2 separate regions of the Homo sapiens genome follow, and region 1 is linked to region 2. Evidence: promoter capture Hi-C in human tissues and cell types (Jung and others, 2019). All regions are on one chromosome and are shown on one strand. The core of a region is centred on a gene start or on the middle of the fragment in contact, and the rest is flanking DNA. Distances in the headings are between cores, read along the strand shown. Region 1 has its middle 48 kb from the start of FAM89A. Region 2 holds the start of FAM89A (family with sequence similarity 89 member A).

Evidence for each region. The method cuts DNA at HindIII sites, captures the fragments that hold promoters and counts their contacts. A contact is called where the count stands out against the background at its distance.
Region 1: a contact is called between a fragment that was not itself captured here and the fragment with the promoter of FAM89A in region 2, in 1 of the 25 tissues and cell types used here (bladder).

What each region holds. Positions count from the first base shown.
Region 1 is chr1:231,085,868-231,090,182 of GRCh38, forward strand. No RefSeq gene overlaps it. Among named protein-coding and RNA genes, the nearest start is that of FAM89A, 48 kb to the left of the region's middle. The HindIII fragment of the contact is 5,041 bases long and covers 1-4,123 here.
Region 2 is chr1:231,037,328-231,041,823 of GRCh38, forward strand. FAM89A (family with sequence similarity 89 member A) reads right to left here and starts at 2,927. Exons shown (of 2, transcript NM_198552.3): 1 at 2,594-2,927. The coding sequence starts at 2,884. RefSeq lists an enhancer at 1,605-2,286 and silencers at 1,949-2,028, 2,669-2,718, 2,979-3,088. The HindIII fragment of the contact is 5,242 bases long and covers 685-4,496 here.

The DNA of each region.
Region 1 (4,315 bases), core at 353-2,852, 47 kb after region 2:
ATTTCAGGAAAAGGCTTTTAGATTTTATTTAAAAAGAAGAAGGAGGAAGAGGACGAGGAGGAAAAAATGGCAAAAAAAGAAGATGGAGAAAAAGCAACAGCAGCAAAGAAAACAACTGTGTGGGAATTTTCATTGGAATTGCATTAAAATACAGATTGGAAGAGAAATTACATTTTAAGATATTGAGCCTACCTATTTAGGAATATGGCATATTTTTCATTTGCTTAGGTGATCTTTCATGATTTTCGTTAAAGTTTTATCCTTTGTCTCCATAAAGGGGACTTGAATATTAGATTTGTTCCTAGGCATTTTACCTTTCTGTTGCTAGTACAAATCTTTTTTAAAATTACCTTTTATAACTGATTAAAGTAGGTATGTAGAAATGCAATTGAAATGCAGTCAAAATATTGATTTTGTATTTAGCCATATAGTTTCTGGGTTTTTGTTTTGCAATGGGGGTCTCACACTGTCTCCCAGGGTGGATTGTAGCTCACTGTAACCTTGAGGTCCTGGGCTCAAGGGATCTCCTTCCTCATCAGCCTCCCGAGTAGCTAGAACTACATGTGTGTGCCACCATATCCAGCTAATTTTTGTTGTTTTGTAGAGCTGAGTTCTCACTATATTGCCCAGGCTGGTTTCAAACTCCTGGCCTCAGATGATCCTCTTGCCTCAGCCTCCCAAAGTGCTGGAATTATAGGAATGAGCCACTGCACCTGAACTAAAATCTCTCTTTTTTTTTTTTTTTTTTTTTTTTGAGATGGAGTTTCGGTCTTGTTGCCCAGGCTGGAGTGCAATGGCGCCATGTTGGCTCACTGCAACCTCTGCCTCCCAGGTTCAAGCGATTCTCCTGCCTCAGCCTCCCATGTAGCTGGGATTACAGGCATGTGTCACCACGCCCAGCTAATTTTGTATTTTTAGTAGAGACGGGGTTTCTCCATGTTGGTCAGGCTGGTCTTGAGCTCCCAACCTCAGGTGATCCACCCGCCTCGGCCTCCCAAAGTGCTGGGATTACAGGCATGAGGCACCGTGCCCGGCCAAATCTCTTATTAATTTTGATAATGTACCTGTAGATTCTTTGGGGTTTTCTACATAGGCAATGATATCATGCTCAAGTAATAACAGTTTTGTTTCTCCCTTTCCAATCCGTATTTTCCCCCTTGTTTTACTGCACTGGCAAAGAAGTGAAATCAATTGTGCTGTGACTTTTTTCCTGATCTTAACAAGATGAGTTCAATATTTCACCTTTAAGTATTGTGTTTGCTGTAAGTGTTTTGCAGATGCTTTTTAAAAATCAGCTAAGGAAGTCTCTTTTACTCCTAGCTTGCTAATAATTATTTTAAAAATAATGGATGATATTAATATTATCAATTTTTTTGCATCTATGGAGATACCCTGTCACATCCACCAAATTTTTTAAAATCATAGCTTATCTGACAGACGTGGCAGCTCATCCCTGTAATTCCAGAACTTTGGGAGGCCAAGGTGGGAGAATCGCTTGAGCTAGGAGTTTGAGACCACCCTGAGCTTCATTAAATCATTCTGATATTTCTACTGTTCAGGAAGAAGTAAAGATTTTTGTTCACTTTACACTTTAAGTTAAATATTGTAATAAAATATTCAATGTAATCTCTAAACCAGTGCTGTCCAACAGAAACAAAATGCTAGATTATATATATAGATATATATATATTTATATATAAACACACACAACGAATGCAAGATGCATATGTAATTTTAAGATTTCTGGCTGGGTATGGTGGCTCACACCTGTAATCCTAGCACTTTGGGAGGCTGAGACAGGTGGATCGCTTGAGACCAGGAGTTTGAGACCAGCCTGGGCAACATGGCAAAACCCTGCCTCTTACCAAAAATACAAAAAAAAAAAAAATTAGCTGGGCATGGTGGCATGCACCTATAGTTCCAGTTATTTGGGAGGCTGAGGTGGAAGGATCACCTGAGTCCAGGGGCGTCGAGCCTGCAGTGAGCTGAGATCGCACCACTGCATTCCCGCCTGGGCGACAGAGTGAGACTCTGTCAAAAAAAAAAAACAAAGAAGGAAGGAAAGAGAAAGAGAGAGAGAGAGAGAGAAAAGGAGGGAAGGAAGGAAGGAAGGAAGGAAGGAAGGAAGGAAGGAAGGAAGGAAGGAAGGAAGGAAGGAAGGGAAGGAAGGAAGGAAGGAAAGGAAGGAAGGAAGGATTCTAGTAACCACATTTTAAAAGAAGACACAGGTGAAATTAGTTTTAATTATATATTTTAGAAGGCCCAGCATGGTGGCTCACACCTGTAATCTCAGCACTTTGGAAGGCTGAGGTGGAAGGATTGCTTGAGCCCGGGAGTTCAATACCAGTCTGAGCAACATACTGAGACTCCGTCTCTAAAATATATATGTATATATAAATGTAAAGCAATAATTAACAGAGGAATGAGCAGAAAATTTCAAATCTACCATCAATAGTGGAAATTATGCTATACTTCTCTTTGTAATTGATAGAACAAGCAGGCCAAAAAAATCTTTAAGGATATAGAAGATTTGAAGGGCATATTAATATATCGGGTTAGTTGATGAATTTATGAAGAACATTGCCTCTAAAAATTAGAGAATATATATTATTTTCAACCACATGTAATATTTTTAAAAACTAGCCATAGGCTAGATCATAGAGCAAACTTCAACAAATTTCAAATGACTGGAATCATACAGATCACATCTGGCAACAATACAATTAAATCCATGACAAAAAAAGACACCAAGAAAAATCTCCAGCACATAAAGGATATCAAAAAACACACTTCTACATAGCTCAGAGGCAAAGAAAGCTGCCACAATGGAAATTTTTAAAACTTAGGACTGAGCCATAGCAAATGTAACACATATACAAATTTTTAGAGTGGCAAAAACAAAACTTTGAAGGACATTTACTGTCTTAAATGCTTACCTAAGAATAGAACAGAAGCTCAGATTAAATGAGCTAAACATCTAAATTAAGAAGTTTAAAAAAAGTAGAGTAAAACAAAAAGAAAAGAAATAGTAAAGGTGGCAAAAATTTTAAAAATATATAACAATCATACAGTAGAAAGATCATAAGGCTAAATATTGGTTCCTTAAAATACTATTAAAATAGCTCAAACTCTGGCAAGATTTATCAAGGAAACAAGGAAGAAAGCACAAATAAATAAGATTAATAATAAAAGAAGGCTATGACAATAAATGCAACAGAGATTTAAAATATGATATGAAGGCTGGGCGCAGTGGCTCACGTCTGTAATCCCAGCACTTTGGGAGGCCGAGGCAGGTGGATCACCTGAGGTCAGAAGTTCAAGGCCAGCCTGGCCAACATGGCAAAACCCCGTCTCTACTAAAAATACAAAAATTAGCTGGGCATGGTAGCGGGCACCTGTAGTCCCAGCTACTCAGGAGGCTGAGGCAGGAGAATTGCTTGAACCTGGGAGGTGGAGGTTGCAGTAAGCTGCAATCGTACCACTGCACTCCAGCCTGGGTGACAGAGCAAGACTCCATCTCAAAAATAAAATAAGATATGAATAATTTCATGCTAATACATTTGAAACCTTAGATGAAATGGATACATGCCAAAAAAAATACATCTCATCAAAAGTAACTCAAAAAGAAATTGAATATCTTAATCATTCTATAATCAGTTAAGAAATAAAATCTATAGCTAAAAATCAATTATACATTCAGATGCTTTACAGTCAAATTCTACCAAACATTGAAAGAACAGTTCATTTCAATCTTACATGGAAAATGATGGAACATTTAAATATTAGCAAATAAAATCCAGCAATGAGTTTAAAAATATATTATTTTTCCAGGAATGCAAGATAGTTTTAAAATTAGAATATTGATGAACGTGTAATATTTTGCTACATTCATAAGCCCATTTCTTACATCTGTAATAATTCTCTGACATTGCTTTTAAACAAGTCGGACACATGTCTCCCGCCCTCGCTTGCTACACTACACCAGCTGAGAAGTGTTCCTTGGAGTTGGCATAGAGGAAAATGCCAGGGAGATTAGTGAGAACGATTTCAATGCCACGTGGGGAGGCAGGGCCGAAATAGGACCACAGTGGATTGAAGACAAATGGAGGTGAGGACCCTTTGTGAAGCTGTTAAGAGTTGGAAGCAAAGGCCGGGCACGGTGGCTCACACCTGTAATCCCAGCACTTTGGGAGGTGGAGACGGATGGATCACAAGGTCAGGAGTTCAAGACCAGCCTGGCCAAAATGATGAAACTCCGTCTCTACTAAAAATACAAAAATTAGCCAGGCGTGGTGGTGGGCACCTGTAATCCCAG
Region 2 (4,496 bases), core at 1,677-4,176:
TAGGTGCTGGCACTGTAATTTTTAATTTTTTGCTTGGCTACATTTTCCATGAAAAAGCTTAAGTTATCTTTGATCCCCTTTTCATCATCTTCCTTGACTCAGTAATTCCTCCAGCTTCGGCTTCAGAAAAGTGTCTCCCACATGAGTCTTGTTTCACATTAGCAAGCCCCCTACCCTGCTGGGGACTCCATCACCTCTCCCATGAACACCTCTCATCTTCCTGTTGAGCCTCCAAAGTCCAGCTCTCCCTTCTGCACCCTGCTGTAGAATTCATTTCTTCAAAGTCCAACTGGGATAATACCATTCTCCTGCTGAATGCCCATCCTTGCTACTCAGGCTTCTCAGAGTCCACTCGGTCCACCTGCCCAGGCCCTTCTTGCTCACATTTCAAACTGGCGCACTCCCAGTTCCAGCTCCGCAGCTACCTTCCTGGTGCCTCTTTCCCTTGTCGAAATTCTGTCGCCTTCTGAGGTCTTCCACACCACCCTGCTCCCTGTCCCTATTAGAAGTTGCCCCTCTTTCTATGCTTGCTTTAAAAAAAAAAATTTCTTTAAGGCATTTATCACATTCTACCATGACATCTAGTTATGTCCCCTGCCACAGATTTGACGTCAGGCCTTCAATTTAAACAGATCAACACAAACTATTTTGCAGATATCTCAGGAATGAACTCCCAGTTCTTGTTTTGCAAGGCCTCCCCAGAGGGAGTCTCAGCTTGAGTTGTCCACTCAGACCCCATGGCCCCAAGTCAGTAAATCAATTAAAAAGCCGAAAGATTCTCTGGGCAACTTTAAAGGCCTTGTGACATTTCTTGAAAGGAACTTGTCAAAACCTGCAGCCATATCTTATCTTTATCTCAGCTAAATACCAGGCAGACCAAAGATGGCTGTTTATTTTTCTTGTGCTTCAAATAGGCTTACAGAGAGCTCTGGTCCAAGGCGTAATTATACGGATGTGGTTGTGCTTCAGTCACACCAGGAGGGACCTGGAAAAATACTTCTGGGAATGGCACGTTGACTCCCAAGCCACCATAGCAAGACTCCAGAGCATGTTTATAAACCACAGCTTCACAACAGGAGCGGCCCCGAGGTTTTTCTATCTCTTGCTCAAGTATGGAATTTAAATAATCAAAGATGATCTTCCTACTTCACCCCCGTGGTTCTGCTATGTCCAAGTTCAGACTGTAAACACACTACGTGTAGATTTATCTAATTAAAATGCAGTTCACCAGCTGTGTGATGCTTATGTCAATGAATGTTTTTTAATAAATTAAAAACGGTTGGCTTGGAATTTAAGTGGTTCTGTAAGAAGCTTAGAAAATCTTTTCAGTGAGAATTGGAAATCACTTCAATGCCAGCTACAGAGTAGGAAGACAATATCTCTTTGATTAAAAGTGTTAAGGCTGCTTTCTGAATTCAATTAAGTCTTAGTTTTCAGAACAGATAATGCTCCTGAAAAAAAAGTATGCATACCCTGAATTTTTCTAAACAATATCTTAAATGCACTAGATACATATTTAAAAGATTCCTATAACAATTTATTTTTTGGCAAATTTAGTTTTGGGAAAAGGCAGCTTTCCTAATGTTAGATTTCTTAACAATTTACCTATAGGGAAAGGAGACAACCTGGACGAGGTGAATGGAAAGGGAGGCTTTTAAAACGAGGGGATTGGGAGGAGGTGATGGGGGCCAGTAAGATGGTAGAAAAGAGGAAAAGTTTTTGATTTCTTCTTGCCTGGCCTACGCCTGGCCGAGAAAGCTGGGGAAAGACTCGCTGTTGCCTAAATCCCTGCCCTTGTCCTACTTTTAGCGTCACCCTAAATCATGTGTGTTCTGGTCCACAAACAGCTAATGTACTTCCCAAGCACAGAGAAACACTGAGCCCATGGTATGGAGCTTAGACACAAGGCGAAGAACTCACATGGACAGCACCCAGACCGGGAGGACAGCCACCTCCCACCTTTCTCAAGAGGGTTTGGGCAATCAGCTTCGCGGGGCTGAGGGACCCGGCCGCCTCCCTCGCCCGGGGTGCGCGTCTGCTTTCGCAGCCATCTGTGCGCCGGGGCCATCCCGCGGTAATCGGATCACGGACGCGCGGCCTGGGGCGCCGGAAAGGGGGCCGGGCTGTTCCAATCTGCTGTCTACACTGGCGGCGGACAAAAGTTGTCCTCTTCGTGGTAGGAAAACGCAATCGCGTTAATCCGTTGGGCCGCTGTGAAAGCCTTTCCCCCACCGGGAAGGTCTGTTTCACTCGGGGAGAGGTGACAAGGCCGCCCCCGCCCCCAGGCCAGGCACGAACCCCGCACAGCGCTTCCGGGCGCCCAGGTTTCCGAGCCAGCGGGGCCGGACTGAGGGCGCCGGGCATAAGAAAGCCGCCCTCTGCGCGCGGGGCTCTCCCGCGGGGGTTCCAATCGTGGGCACGGAGCACGCGAGAAAAATGGGGGTCGTTGGGAGGACGGCGCCGGCGCCTGGGGCGGAGGAGCCCGAAAGGGCGGGTGGGCGCGGGGACTTCCGGACAGAGCGCGGTCCCCGCGAACTTTCCCGGGACGGCGAGCCCGGCCGGGAAGAGCCCCAGCTCGCGGAGCCCCACTCACCATCTCTTTGCGGAGCAGCGCCAGAGCGGCGTCCAGGTTGGGAGGCTTGGCGGGCAGCGCTGCCGCCCGGGCCCCGCCGCCGCCCGGGCCCCCGCGGCTCAGCTCGTCCTGGATGCGCGACTTCTGCGCGTACAGCCGCTCCAGGTGCCGCCAGCCCCCAGACGCGCCGCCGCCCGACGCCGAGTGCAGCAGCCCGCTCAAGCTCTTTGGCAGCGGGGGCAGCCCGTCCACCCGCAGCCCCCGGACCGCGCCGTTGCCCGCGGCCCCGGGCGCCGCCCGGGCCCCACTCATCGCGCCGCGGCCCGGCCACGCGCCTGCCCCGCTGCAGCGAACCAAGGCTTTCCCCCGGCCCGCCCCCTTCCCGGCGGTGCCCCGCCCACTTCCCCTCCCGCGCCACGCCCCCCCGGCCCCGCCCCCTCTCCTCGAGGCCCCTGCGCGGGCCCCGGGTCCGGGTGGCGTCCGCGTCCAGCAGCCGGGCTCGCCTCCACCCGGGTCTCCTCCTCCCTCGCGCCCCTCCAGCGCCCTAATTCATCTCCAACTCCGCGTGACTACCCTCTAACCCCCCGACTCACCTCCAGCCCCGTCACGAACCCTTCTGTGCCACTCCCTAGCTCCGAACCTACTAAGCCCCCCGCGACCCGCAGCTTCCCGGTTCACCCCCATCTCTGTCCCCACCTCCTCTGAACCACCTCCCAGCTTCCCGGCTCACCCCTAGCTCCGAACCCTCTCACCCGCGCCACCCCGAACCCCAGCTTCCCGGCTCACCCGCATCTCTGTCCCCACCTCCTCTGTGCCAACCCCCAGCTTCCCGGCTCACCCCCAGTTCCGCCCCCACGCCCTCTGTGCCACCCTCAGCTCACTGGCTCACCCTCAGCTCCGAACCCACTCACCCCCCACCCCAGGCTTCCGGATCACCCCCATCTCTGCTCCCACCTCCTCTGTGCCACCCCCAGTTCACTGGCTCGCCCCCAGCCCCGTCTCCACTCCCTCTGTCCCACCCCTCAACGCCCGCTCACCTCCAACCCGGCTCCAGACTTCCCCCTTACCTGCCAGCGCTCCTCAGCTCCTTGCCTCACCGATCCCTGCCCTGCCCAGGGGGCGGCCCAGCTTCAGATCCCACGAAGCAGGCCGTTGCAGGGGGTGGGGGTACCGAGGCTCTGGCTCACAACCGGCAGGACGTCGAGGGCAGGAGGCCTGGCTCTGGTCCCAGGACCCCCGGCCCTCCCCGAGGGCGGAATCCAGCCCGCCTCCTGCTGCCTCCCACTCGCCGCGGGGGGCGGCTGGGGGCCCCAGACCCGGGCAGGTCGCTCCTTGCCGCCGGGCGCGCTGGCCTTCTCAGCACGGCCTTGTCCAGCAGTACCCGCAGCAGTCAGCAAGAACGCCAGACCCACTTTTGAAACTTCAAAACACTAGTAAACATGCCTTTCATTCTGGCCATAAACACAAGAGTAACTCTAAGTGGAAATGTCAGGAAACCAGAGAAAGGGATTAAATCTCGGAAATTATCCATCAGCTCAGGCAAAAATAAACACGACGCACACCTCAGAGGAAAAGAGAAGAGAGAGAGAGACTCTGCCCCTCCCAGGAAAAGTAAAAATGACAGGCAGTTATAACCAGATTAGAGATAGAAAAGATCAAGAAGTAAACGCTACAGCCCAACCGCAGATTAAAAACTAATGCAGTGTATAGATTGGATAACTTTAATGCCCATTCATTATTGGCTTTAATTATAAAGGGATTTAATTTTCTAGCTACATTCAAGGGGATCAAAATTATAAAGTGTTCTGAGCACTTCAGACACCCAACATAAAAGAGCCCTGCACTTTGGGTTGTTTTATACCCTTTACCACCTCCTAGAGCCCACCCCAGAAGCAGTGTCTTTGAAATTGGCACAATATTCTCC